Linked DNA regions of Homo sapiens: region 2 is linked to region 1. Evidence: promoter capture Hi-C in 16 types of primary human blood cells and fetal thymus (Javierre and others, 2016). All regions are on one chromosome and are shown on one strand. The core of a region is centred on a gene start or on the middle of the fragment in contact, and the rest is flanking DNA. Distances in the headings are between cores, read along the strand shown.

Region 1 (6,030 bases), core at 1,082-3,581:
GAGAGTGGCCACCCACACCCCCAGCCAGGGGCCTGTCCTGAGACGCAGAGAACAGGCCCTGGGAGACCGTTCAGGCCTGTACATTTTACAGAGGGGGGTAAACTGAGGCTTGGTGATGGGCTCTTGGGTGTCCAAGGCCATACATCCAGCTGGCGGCCCAGATCTTTCTGGGCATGCAGCCCCCAAATCCTGAGCCAAATCCCCCAAACCCAGTCAGTACTAGGGTTGGAGACTACTAGAAACCAAATGAGAATCCTAGGCAAGGCCTGACGTGCAGGTCTGGGGGCCCCAGCCCGTCTCAGCCTCAGCCCTGCACTTTTTTCTTTTTTTTGAGATGGAGTCTCGCTCTGTCACCCAGGCTGGAGTGCAGTAGCACAATCGCAGCTCACTGCAACCTCCACCTCCTGGGTCTCCTGGGTTCAAGTGATTCTCCTGTCTCAGCCTCCCAAGTAGCTAGAATTACAGGCATACGCCACCACGCCCAGCTAATCTTCGTACTTTTAGTAGAAACGGGGTTTCTCCATGTTGCCCAGGCTCTCGAACCCCTGACCTCAAGTGATCCACCCGCCTCAGCCTCCCAAAGTGCCGGGATTACAGGGGAGAGCCACCACGCCTGGCCAGCCCTGAACTTCATAATCCCTCCCACCTGCACCGCCCCCTCTGCCCAGGATCAGCACCTGAGTTCCTGTCCTCATCTTGGAGATCTTCTCTCTGGCCGAGGCTGCCCATGCTGGTGGGGCTGTGGGAGAGAAGGGCCCCGGGTCACAGCAGTGACCCCAGCCCTTGCTGGGCACCACTCGGTCTTCAAGGAGCTCACAGCCTAGGGGCCGACCCTCTCAAATGCTACCTCCCACACTCATCTGCAGCCTCCCCGCCAGGCTCTGAATGTCCAGCCATAGGCTGTGTGTCTTGCCTTGGACATCCTGAGACCTAGGGGACCCCAAGATGATCCTCAAACCTGCAACAGCCCATCTGCCAGTGTCCCCCGCCAGCCACCCTGGTCGCCTCCCGCCAGTACAGCCTAGAAGGACTCTACCGCCAGCCATGCCAGCCTCTGGCCATGCCAGCCTCCGGCCACTGCTCCCCACACCTCGCTTTTCCTGAAAGGACCACTCTCACCTCCTCCTGGTTTCACTGACGGCCTCCTGCCCCTCTCCCCATGTGGCACCAGCTTAGGGGCTCAGTCATCTGTTCACTGACTGAATGGGACCCCCGGGCTATATGTTATATCTCAAAACACAGCATGAGGGTCAGGCATGGCCACTCCCCTCCTCACCCCCCCAGGCTGGGCAGCAAACTCTGATGGGGGCGATGGAGGCAGACGGACATCGTCAGAAGATCCTGGAATCTTCTCCACTAGCAGGTTCAGGAATGTGGGTCTGGCTCTAGCCCTGCACCGGGGGCCCTGGTTTGGCCCCCTATGAGGATGGGCAAACCACCCCTAGACGCCAGCAACTGGCCCCCCACCTGCCAGCTCTCTAGCAGTGCCCTCCCCGCCAAGCCCCTGCCCCTGTGTTCCGGCCACCCGATGCACCCGTCCTCACCCTTCTGGTCTCCATTCATACTTCCTAGCCCGGCCAGGCTGGGCCTTGTGCCTCCTCTCAGGTGCCCCTCTGCCTGGGGAGTCTCCCATCCCAGCTCTGATCACCGTCTCACCTCCGCGGATGCCAGCAGGACCTGAGCCTTCCTGAGTCACGTCTGAGTCACCCGTGTCCCCAGGTCCTGGTGGGGCAGGGCTTGGCTCAGGGCCAGCTCTGGTGCTCCTGGGAGTCTGAGCGGGGCCAGTGCCCATTCACCGCATGAGGAAAAGGGAGGTTCAGGGCGAAGAGGGGTTTAGGCTGTGGGACGGGGGAGAGGTGGGGGAGACCCCCGTGGGGGCAGACTGGGGATTGGAGAGTTGGAGAGAATGCTCAAATGGCCAGAATCCACTCGAAGTGTATCTGGGGGCAGAAAGAGACACGGACACAGCGCTGGCTTCCTGCCCCCTCACTAACTGGGATGCCCCATTACTCGGAAGCCCCCCACCCCGTCTTCCCGCAGCCGCAGGGGCACAGGACCGCCCTGGACAGGGCTCCAGAGTCCAGGGCTGTCTGCACCCGCCCCGGGGCCCCGACCGCGCGAACCTCTAGGGGCGCGCTCTCCACCCCCGCCGCCACGACCCCAGCTCTCAGCCTGGGTGGAGCCCAGAGAGGGTGCGCGGGCTCCCGGGGACGCACAGCAGTGGGAGCACCCGCCGCTCACCGGCGCAGGAGAGGCAGGGGGGGGCAGGCCGCGGGCGTCCAGGGCGGCGGACGTGGTGGAACCGTTAGCCCGGTGCCAACGGTCCTGAAACGGGGGGCGGGATCTCGGGGCGGGGCCTCGGGGCCCGGCCAAGGCGAAGGTGGAGCCAGTTCGGACCCCGGAAGGGGGCCGGGGGCGGGGCCTGGAGGGGGTGGGTGGGGCCAAGGCGAAGAAGGGGCGGGGCCTCGAGGGTGGGGCCGAGCGGAGCACGGCCGAGCAGGATGGGGGCCAGGCCTCAGGGACGCGGTCACGGCCGAAGGGCGGGGCCTCGCAGAGCCTCGCAGAACAGGCCGGGATAGAAGACGCTCGGGAGCAGTGCCTGGGTCTGGGGAGGGGCCGGGACTTTGGGGAAGGGACTAGAAGGAAGGCGAGGACGAGCGGGGTCTCGCTGAGCAAAGTCAGAGTAGGGGCGGGGCCAGGACTCAGGGGCTTGGCCAGAGCGGGAAGCGGGGTTGAGCATGGCCTTGCGGAGCAGTGTTATGGTAGGGGCGGGGCTGGGATCCGGAGCCGTTACAAAGGAGGAAGGCGGGGCCGCGCAGAGCAGGGTCAGGGTAGGAGGGCGCTCAGGGTGGGTCCAGGACAGAAGGCAGGGCCTTGGGAGGGCCTTAGGGAGCAGTGCCAGTGCAGGGGCGGAGCCTGAAAGGGAAGAGGGTGTCAGGGCAGGGCCGGGCCGGGCTTGGTCAGGGAGCAGAAAGAACCTGCACCGCAGGGCGGGGTTGGAAGGGTTCTTGGAAAGGTGGGCCTGGGTCAGGTCGGAATGGGCCTTGCAGACCTGACGGGGCTGAGGCTGGTGCGGCCAGCGTGGCAGAGTGCAGGAGGAAGGACCACAGGTAACGGCGGTTATGTAAGTCATGTCTGATCCGTGTCCTGGGTTCGTTCATTCATCCCATACACGTTCAACGAGCGCCTCCTAGGCGCAGATGCAGGGCTGAGCACCAGGCTGGGGAGAGGCGGTTATAGCCATTGAGACCACCCTAAGGCCAAGAGGAAGCCCGCAGGGTTCTTTCCAGCAGGTGGCAGGGGCTCAGGGATCCTTACTGAAGAAGTGGCAGGGGTGAGTTCAGCGACGAGGCTAGGGCGGGTCCAGGCCAGCGATAGGGCCTGGAGCCAGGGTCAGAAAGTGTGTGCGGAGGGGCTGCTGAAGATGAAATGCCCCCAAGAGTGAGGCTACCTGGGGTGAGGGCCCAAAGGGAGAGGCAAACATGGGTGGAGGGGGATAGGGAAGCCACCTCCCCCATCAAAGCGGCAACCACCTGAGGGCTCTCGGTGATCACAAACCCTCTTTCTTTGGAAGCCCAAATTGGAAGCCTGCTTGGCCCTGGAGGCTGCCAGGGAACCTCTCTTTTTTTGGAGACAGAGTCTCACTGTGTCACCCGGGCTGGAGTGCAGTGGTGCGATCAGAGCTCACTGCAGCCTCCACCTCCTGGGCTCAAGCGATCCTCCTGCCTCAGCCTCCAGAGTAGCTGGGACCACAAGCAGGCAGGCAGGCCACTGTGTTTGACTTCTCTCCTTTCATTCCTTCAACACTTCCCCTGTGCTTGCTTGCTTGCTCAGTGGTTACGAAAAAAAGCCGGGGCTGGGAGTTTGAACACACTGTTCTAATAAACTTTAGAAGAGACCTGGTTGGGTGCAGCTGTGAGGACCAGATTCCCCCACCCCAGCCTTCGCAGGGGGCACTATCTGGGGGCAGGAGCTTGCCCAGGGCACTTGTGCAAAGGCCCTGAAGCCTCCAGTGGCAACAGGTGGCTTCACAAGCTGAAGGGAGTCCCTGGGGGCTGAAGCCAGGGCTGGCCAGCCTTGGGACCCCCCGTGGGCTATGTCCTGAGGCACCAGGTGCGTTCTGGGAAGGGGGAGGCAGACATCACATGGGAATGCACAGAAACAGAGCGCATACACGCCTGCGCCATTTATTTAGAACACAGAGCCGGGCACAGTGGCTCATGCCTGTAATCCCAACGCTTTGGGAGGCCGAGGCAGGTGGATCACTTGAGGTCAGGAGTTCGAGACCAGCTTGGCCAACGTGGTGAAACCCCATCTCTACTAAAAATACGAAATTAGCCAGGTGTGATGGCACAGCCATAATCCCAGCTACTCGGCAGACAGAGGTTGCAGCCAGCTGAGACTGGGTGACAAAGCGAGACTGTGTCTCAAAAATAAAGAAGAAAAAGAAAACAACTCCTTTACAGAAGAGGTGGGAGAGTCACTAGTCACAAGAACAGCCCTCGAGGGTGGAAGGGCCTGGCCTAACCACGGTCCCCCAGGAGGGCCCTGGAGAGATGCAGAGCCCAGAACCGGGAAGGGAGCCTTGGGATGGAGTCCTCTGGGGAGGGCCCCCACGTCCTCATCCCGGGACCTGTGCCCTTGGCCTTGCCCTTCAGCAGAAGCCCAAGACCAGGGTGGCAGGAAACCCACTCCAGGCAACCTGCCCCCAGCTGCTGGGTCCTGTCCCGCAAGGCTCATCACTTTTTCTACTTGAGGTCAATAAAAAGTGGGGCCTAAACACCCCTGGGCCTCCCATTTCCAAATGGGGTCCCGATGCAACCACAGTTGCCCGAGACGTGCGTGCACTACACAATGTGTGGCGTTTCCTGGCAAGGGCCGGAGCAGCTTTCCGTGTCTGCACTCCATCCTTTGACGGGCAACACACAGCAGCTCCCAGTCTCTTTAACCCCCTCTCACCATCTGTGTGCAGTCCCTATCTCTGGGCAGGGCAGAGAGGGAAGCCAGCTCTGTGCACAGGGCCCAGCTCCACACAGGGCTGGGGACACCACCCACTGTCCGAGAGGCACTAGAAGCTGCAGGATGGTGGCCCATGATCTGGGGCTGGAACTGGGACCCCACAGCAGGTGTGGCCCAGCCCTGGGGGAGCCAGCCCTGGGCCAGCTTTTGTGAGGGAAAGTTTCACTGCTCTGTTTTCTCTGCGTTGATGGGAAGAGAATCAGTCCCGGCTGCAGGGACAGTGGCCTCCCCGGGGCACATGCAGAGGCCTCACCAGGCACCAAGACCAAGACCACCACAAAATCTAAAATCCATACAAACATTTATTCTGTCCCTGCCTGGAGGTGAGGGGGAAGGGGGTCCGGAGAGCCCCGCAGAGGAGGACGGGGCTCTAGCGGGAAGACAGTGTCCGGAGGCCGGTGGGCTCCCTCTAGACGGCAGACCCTGGGGCTAACGAGGGGCCAGCTGGGTTCTCAGAGGTCACGGAGTGCAGGGGTGGGGCGGCGAGTGGTGGAAGCCGGCGCCCCCGAAGACCGGCCAGCCCCTGGAGCACAGAGGCGGGTCCAGCCCACACTGCGCTGAGTGTGGCCCTGGCCCCCACTGGGGTCTGTCCCACCCCCACCCCGCAGGAGGGAAGGCAGCAGGCCCGCTCTTCCCGGTGGGAAAGATGCTGTGCAAGTCATCAGGTTTAAATTAAAAATAATAAAAATAACAATACAAAATAAAAAAAGACTGTCTCAAACAAACCTGGGACAAGCCCGCCCCGCGACCCACGTGAGGAGCAGAGGTGCCGGCCACCACCCGGGAGGGAGGGCCTGGCAGGAGGGGCAGGAGGGGCTGCGGGCCGGGTGGGGGCGGGCTCTGTCCTGGTCTCCATCAGCAGCAGTTTCTAGAGACGCCAGAGGGCTGGGGGGCAGAGGGTGGGGACCGGCGGAGGGGTGCGGCAGGACGTGAGCGGGGGTGGGCTGGGCTGGGCGTTCTCTGGCCGCCAGCTCATCCCGCTGCTCTGGGCTGCCTCGGCCAGGTGGACGG
Region 2 (7,286 bases), core at 2,300-4,799, 530 kb before region 1:
TGCCAAGACTCTGCTTACGTTTCTCCTTCCCCTTCCAGTGCCCTGGGTCCTTCTCTGCCCCAGCCTCAGCTGCCGCCTCCAGGAAGTCCTCCCTGATTGCCCACCCCAGCCTGTTCTTTAGGGGAATCCTGCAGGGAAGGTTGGGGAAGCAACCCTTAAAGTGAGGGCAGAGCCCGAGGGAGGCCCCTGAGACTGCAGGTGGGGAGGGCAGCTTGGCTCAGCCTGGCTGTGTGTGGGACTGGGGACAAGCAAGTCACACCTATGACTCGGGCTCTGCTGTTCCCCATCTGTCTGGCCGTTGCGTCTGTCTCCAAACTCCCGTTTGCATCTCTCCATCTGCCTCCTTCACTTTGTCTCTGTCCGTCTCTGTCTCCATGTCTGACCCTTTGGGACACACTTTTAACAGGCACGGAGACACCAGCCCCGGCCCCCAACCCTGTGATCTGTGCCCCCCGTCCCACAGCTCTGAGCGCTTTCACCAGCTTCAAAAGGCACATTAATTACTCTAATGAGGTCAGGAGAGACCCACGCTCTGCCATCCGGAGTCGGAACATGCCGCAGCCCCCAGCCCAGCCGCCGCCGCCCCCCGCTCGAGCAGGGAGAGGGGCTCTGCTGCCTCCGTCCCCTCTGCCTGTCGGGGCCCGTGCTGCACCCCACGTTGCTGCAGAGTAATTGGCAGCCCCCCAAGGTTAATGCACTGTTAGCCAGGGGTTCTCCTGGGCTCAGAGCCGGAGAGGGGCCTGTCAGCGAGAAATGAAAGGCCCCAGGTCCCGGCTGGTGCTCGGCTTGTGAGCGTGTGTGTGCCCGTGGGAGTGCGTGTGTGTGCGGGTGCCTGGGAGCTTGCGGGGGCGGGCAGTGGCTTCCTCCACCTCTCCCACGCAGACACGCAGACACGCAGGCACCCACAAAATACAGTCTCATAGACACACGGTAAGCAACTCGGACAGTTCCATGGATGGGACGCCCGCAGCCCCGTGGGACACGCGATCACACACATGGGTGTGACCTGCTCAGCTCCTAACCCCACGCCGGGGAGTGTCTCAGACCCATGCCCCCCACCCTTGCCCCTCGGTGTGCCCACTGGACAAGCAGCATATCAGGTCTGTGCCTCTGGGTGGGGGGGGGTGGGGGTCTCTGCTTCAGCAGCGGGCCCCGCCCAGGCTGGAGTCCAGTGGACTCACTGCGGGGCTTCTCCGCTTGTGAAATAGGGGCGGGTGGGCGCTGGGGACGTGGCCTCAAAGGCGGGATGCGTTGGGTTCCTTGCGGCGCCGGCTTGTGCCCACAGCTTGGGGCCGACATTCATCCTGGGGAGATAGAGACAGGGCTCCTCTGCCGCCCTGGTGCCGGGGTGCCCCAGGGATGTGGCCCCATGTGCCAAATCACAGTCACTCGGGTTGGCAGGCGACGGAGGGCTCTCTGCCTCTTCTGGGGGTGCTGAGACCCCTGTACCCTCGACTCCCCACCTCCAGGGATCTCACCCCCAGGTGCCCATCTCCTCTGTGGGGGGCCTGAGCCACCACTGACCCCACATTAAGGCCACTGACGTCCCCGTCCTAGGCCAGCCAGCCCCTGAGAAGCACCCAGTGCTTTGCTGTGGGACACAAAGCCACACATGGCTATTCACGTTATTTCATTAAGTTACATAAAACTGGAGGTCCAGGGCCTCAGTCACCATGGGGAGAGGTCCTCAGTCGCCATGGGGAGAGGTCCGGGTCCTCAGTCGCCGTGGGGAGAGGTCTGGGGCCTCAGTCACTGTGGTGGACAGCGATTGGTGGGGGCAGGGACATTTCCTTTGTCTTGGAAAGTTCTGGACGCTGGTGGTGTCTGGACACTGGAGAACGGGTCTGTGTTCAGGCCCCAGACCTGAAGGTGGGATGAGGGAGAGAGGAAGGAGGAGGAAGGGGAGGAGGGAGGGGACAGAGTGGGAAGGAGAAGGATGTGAATGGAGAGGAAGGATGGGAGGAGGAAGGAAGGAAGGAGGGAAGGGGAGGAGGAGGAAGGAGAGGAGGGTGCAGAGGATGGGGGAAGGAGGGGGGAGGAGGGTGTGAAGGGGAAGGAGGGAGGAGGGAGCGGAGGACTGAGAAGGGGAGGAAGGTGTAAAAGGAGAGGGAGAGAGGAAGGAAGGGAGGGGGTATTAAGGGGGAAGAGAGTGGGAAGGGGGAGGAGGGAGGGGAGGGTAGTATGAAGGGGGAAGGAAGGAGGGAGGGGAGAAGGGTGGGAAGGGGAGGAAGGAGAGAGGGAGGGAGGGGAAGGTGTGAAGGGAAGGAGGGAGGGGAGGTGGGAGGGAAGTAGGGAGGGGGAGGGAGGGGAAAGGTGTGAAGGGAAGGAGGGAGGGGAGGAGGGAGGGAGGAGGGTGTGAAGGGAGGAGGGGGAGGAGGGTGGGAGGGGAGGAGGGAGGGAGGAGGGTGTGAAGGTGTGAAGGGAGGAGGGAGGGAGGGGAGGAGGGAGGGAGGAGGGTGTGAAGGGAGGAGGGAGGGAGGAGGGTGTGAAGGGAGGAGGGAGGGAGGGGAGGAGGGAGGGAGGAGAGTGTGAAGAGAGGAGAATGGGAAGGATGGGAGCTGGGGAGGAGGGAGGAGGGTGAGCTGGGAATGGGGCTGTGTGCCTGCTCTTTTCCACCACTGGCTGCAGGGGTTGCAGGAATCTTGGGTCCATGGCTGGATGGGGGTGGGGATTTTCATGTTACCCACTGGAGAAAGGGATACATTTTTATTTTCAAGGACAGCGACCCAGCCCAGGGGAAACGCCCCTGGCCCCTGGGGCTAAGCGCAGACCCCAGCTCCGTGCTTCGCAGGTGGGGGGCGATGGACAGCGGTGGGGCTCCCGCCCTGAGTGGAGCCTGTGACCTGCCCGGGCCCCAGCGCCCCGTGACCCCTGCCGCCTGATCCTTGCCTGGCTGAGATGGGGCTTCTGAAGGCTGCCGGCACCAGGGCAGGCAGCGCATTGGGTCCAATTTATTCTGTAATGAGAAATTCTCCCCGCATATTTTTAGCTTCCTCCTGGCGTCGCGGCCTTTGAAGGCTGAGGGGCTGCGGGACGCTGATCCCAAGCCCTGTGGCCTGGCCATGTGGGCAGTGGGTGCTGGGCACGGGCTGGACAAGTCCCTTCCTGAGTCTGGGTAGACCCCAGTCCCAGCAGTGCAGAGCAGGGGGCGGGGCCAGACCCCATCAAGCCCTGTACTGGCTCCAGACCAGGGACTGAGGGCGACCCTGGATAACCCCTGACCTTGGCGGACACCTGTTCCCAGAGTGAGCCTGATTTCTGACCCTTGGCTCCACAGGAAGCTTACTCTAGAGTGACCTCCGGCCGCGGCTGCGTCCCAAAGCCGGGACAGCTCCCAGCCCCAGGAGGGAACAGGGCTTCTTGGACCCCCACAGTGGCCCCCCTGCCAGGCAGGGGTTTGCCGGGGCAGCCTCGCCCAGGGCCAGGCCTCGGAGACGCCCTGCCCTCCCCTCCCTTCCCCAGGTCCTTCCTCTAGGAGCGGCCAGCGGGCGCGGGGAGGTTGAATGGGGGACGCACCGCCTTTGTTCCCGTCCCTGCTTGGGCTCTGACCTTGAGAGAGACAAGAACAGAAGGAAAACGGAGCTTCTGCTCAAATCCGTTCAGCGGTGGCGGTGGTGGCGGCTCTCGCCTCGGTGGCCCCTGCATGCAAATGAGTGGCCCTGCCATGCCTGGGTGGAGGTGGTGCCCTTCCAGCTCCCACCTGTGCAGGTCCCAGTCCTGGTTTGAGAAGAGACCCCCTCCTCCCGACCCTGGCCCACCCCTCCTCACCCACGAGATCCCTTGAAGCAGGAGGGGGCTTCTGGTCCCAGGGTAGAAGGAAGCTTCCAGAACTCCCACCTTTGCCAGGTGGCATGCTGGGGCCGGGCACGCCAAGACCCCAGGCTCACGGCCCCTTGTCCTGTGCTTGGGTGCAGCCGCCACACTCTGCTCCGAAAGTGCTCACCTCCGGGAGTGGCCGTCCCCCTCCCTAAAAGAGCCCCCCACCAGACGGAGCCGCCCGGGAAGCTTCTCCAGCCTGTCTGGGCTACAGAGCCTTGTGTGGCTAGAACCCAAGGCCCTCACTCCAGGGGTGCTGAGAGAGCCTGTCCAGAGGGCCTGCCTCAGCCACCACCTGGGACAGGTTCACGCCCTCCACTGAAGAGACACCCGGCCAGCCCTGGGCCTTCGACCTGGGACGTCTGTAGTGGGGTCAGGGGATGAGACCTGGAGCTCAGAACAGACGGGCTGAGCTCCCTGGAGGAGAGAGAACTGAGAACCTTGTCCTGGCAGGGACGCTAGAGCACTGGGTGGGACAGACCTTTCTGGAAGAGCAAGATTTTAACAGGAAGAAAAAGTGGAAGGACTTCCCAGCAGGACCCAGCCTGAACAAAGGTCAGGTGGTGTGGCCCGCGTGGCCCGCTGGGGAATCGGGGGAGGAGGGCACGCAGGAGACACAGGACAGAGCCCACCACGTCTCAGAGCTGTGGGACGGTGGTGGGTCCGGTCCCCACCCCACCTTGCTGGGGCACAGGTTAGCTTGCCCATCTCTGGGTTCACGGTCCCTGCCAGGAGTTTGGGTAATGCCTCACACAGGGACCTTCGGGTCCAAGGGCTGTTGGTGCTTGCCCTGCAGTTCCCTCTCCTGCACTGGGCCTGGTGAATGACACTAATTCAGAGACGTACAACACGATCTGGGCATCGCCAGCAAAGTCCAGCCAGCGTTTGATGACAGCCTACCCTCCACAAGCTCAGAGTCTGGTGAGGGAGGCTGTGGCATGAATAAGGGCAAAAACAGAGGGCAGGCCAGGTGCAGTGGCTCACGCCTGTAATCCTAGCACTTTGGGAAGCCCAGGTGGGAAGATCGCCTGAGCCCAGGAGTTCAAGACCAGCGTGGCCAACATGGCCAGACACTGTCTCTATAGATTGGAAAAAAGACAAAGCAGAGGCCAGGCCCCCAGTTCCCCACCTGTGTCAGCCTACCAGGAGGAGAAATCACTCGGCGTTCCCTGAACAGATCAGACCCCGGGTCTTTGCACAAGCTGTGCCCCCGGGCAGCGGCCCTCCCCTGCCTGCAGGATTCGTGCGTGGAGACTGATTTGCTGTCGGCCGGGGCTTCACTCTGGGCTTCTTGGATCCCATCCCCAGCTGCTCACACTCCACATCGGTCCACCTACTATGCTCCCGGCACCCTTAGGGCTGAGGTGTAGGGACTTACTCCATCCCCAGGGAACAGCGTGGGTCCGGAGAGGCGACTCCCAGGAGGGCCCCAGGGAGGTCGCAGCCCGAGCAGCTTTGGACTTTGGCCAGCGCCCCTCTGAAACTCTGCCCCGGCCCCCGCAGGGAGACTGGAGTTGGCCGAGCCCGATTTGGGACGCGTGCGTCGGGGTTGGTGAGGCTGCGGATAGCGCTGGAACCGGGCAGGTGAGAGGCCCGGGACCCAGGGCCGGGCCGGGTGGAGCGCGTGGGGGCGCGGGAGGCAGGGTGCGCCCCCGCCCCTCGGAGACCCCAGGCCGGGCCACGCGGATGCCGGCGGGGGGCGCGCAGAATCGGGGTCGCTGGGGGCAGGCCCCGGGGGACGAGCCTGAGACGGGGTGGGCCGGGGCAGGGGGCGGGCGCAGGCTGGAGACCCCCGCCCAGTCCCCGCGCGGCCGGGGCACGGCGGGAGGGGGCGCCCGCGGCCCTCCCGACGCTCGGGCGGGACAAAGGCCGGAGCCCGGGCCCCTCCCCGGCGGGTGCGGCGGCGGCGGCCCGCGCTCCGACAGTCCGCGCGGCCGGGTCCTGCGCCCGGGGCGACCCCGGCGCCCCGCCCCGCCGCCGCCTGACTTCTCGGCGCCCGAGGTCGCGCGCGCGGAGGCGGGGGCGGCCCGGGATCTCCAAGCGCCGCCGCGCCCTCCTCCCGCCCGCCCTCCGCCCGCCCGCTCGGCGGCGGCGGCGGCGGCGGAGGAGGCGGAGAAGGCTGGCAGGCGGCGGCCGGGAGAGCGAGCGCGGCGGCCGGACCGGGGCCATGGCGCCCGCGCAGCGCCCGCTGCTCCCGCTGCTGCTCCTGCTGTTACCGCTGCCGCCGCCGCCCTTCGCGCGCGCCGAGGACGCCGCCCGCGCCAACTCGGACCGCTACGCCGTCTACTGGAACCGCAGCAACCCCAGGTGAGCGCGGCCGCGCGCGGGGGGCGCCCGGGGACCCCCCAACGCCCCCCAAGCCGCGCCCGGCCTCGCGCCCCCGGAGCTCCGGGCGCCCCCCACGCGCGCGCCGCCGCCGGGATGCGGGCGCCCGGTTCCCGCGGGAGCCCCCCAGGGAGCTCCGGCCCCCCGGAGTTTGGGGGACTCGCCCTTTTCGCGCCTGCCTTCCCCGGGGCGCCCCATTGCCCTACGGACTGTGGGGACTCGCGCCCCACATCCCCCAGAGCGCCGACGTCTCCTGGAGTTTGGGGAACCCCTCTGGTACCCTCCGATGCCGGGTAGCCCCTGAGTTGCCTGCCTGGACTTGGGGGGACCCCTGATCCACCCGCTTCTCTGGGGAGCCCCCTCGGTTTCGCATTTGGTGGGGATCCCCGGGGACCTTGGCACCGGAGGTGGGGGACTGTGGCCCTCGAGGGATCTCTGGGTTCGTCCTGCCCGCAGGTCCCCAGATGAACTTGGGGAAGTTGGAGTGTCCCTCCCTCAGGACCCAGCATCTGCTTCACTCCAGGGGGCCAAGGGCCCAGCTTTGAAAGGAGACTGAGGGGCCGGGGAGCTGGGGGTCAGCCCCGGGAGGGGCAGTGGGATGGAGTCCTCTCTTGTCCTCTGGGCGCTGACCAGGAAACTGAGGTGCAGAGGGGATGAGGAGCTGGCTCAAGGTCATGCAAGGGGGGGACTTGGGGGCAGGACCCAGGTGGCCCAGTGCCCTGCCTGCCACGCCCGGCCGAGATGCCGCACCCGCCTGCTGCAGGCCCCCTTGTTTTGAACCAGGTCCGGGCCAGGCACAACGTGGGGGACAGGAGAAGCCCCCGTTGGTCAGAGCAAAAAAAGTTTGCCGGGGCCTGGCCATGGCCTGGACGTGGGTAGAACCCTCTGAACCATCCCAGGGTCTCCAAGACAGGAGCAGGCTGCAGCTTCCCTGGGGGTCCCGTGGGAGCCGGGGCTTTGGGGGTCCTGGGGCTCGGGAGGGAGTCAGCCCCAGCACTCAGGGTGTCACCGTCTTCCTAAGGCACACGGAGCTGCACATCGGGGGCTGAGGCGGCCCCCCCCCACTCTTCTGCTACTGGTCACTTTCTCTCCGTTTTCCAGCCGCTTCCTGTGCCGACCGAGCCGCCCTCTGGAGCCCGCCACCC

The links. Contacts are between HindIII fragments. The CHiCAGO score rates a contact against its expected background, and 5 or more counts as called.
Region 2: a contact is called between a fragment that was not itself captured here and the fragment with the promoter of ATP8B3 in region 1, in 1 of 17 cell types (activated CD4 T cells). The highest score is 5.2, in activated CD4 T cells.

Annotation. Positions count from the first base shown.
Region 1 is chr19:1,809,945-1,815,974 of GRCh38, forward strand. ATP8B3 (ATPase phospholipid transporting 8B3) reads right to left here and starts at 2,332. Exons shown (of 29, transcript NM_138813.4): 1 at 2,242-2,332; 2 at 1,545-1,940; 3 at 678-739. The coding sequence starts at 1,792. It overlaps REXO1 (RNA exonuclease 1 homolog), which reads right to left. Exons shown (of 16, transcript NM_020695.4): 16 at 5,304-6,030. RefSeq lists enhancers at 1,840-2,585, 2,966-3,125 and a silencer at 2,046-2,415. The HindIII fragment of the contact is 25,835 bases long and covers 1-6,030 here.
Region 2 is chr19:1,280,186-1,287,471 of GRCh38, forward strand. It overlaps EFNA2 (ephrin A2), which reads left to right and starts at 5,688. Exons shown (of 4, transcript NM_001405.4): 1 at 5,688-6,123. The coding sequence starts at 5,984. RefSeq lists enhancers at 2,402-3,248, 4,772-5,272, 5,273-5,773. The HindIII fragment of the contact is 540 bases long and covers 3,280-3,819 here.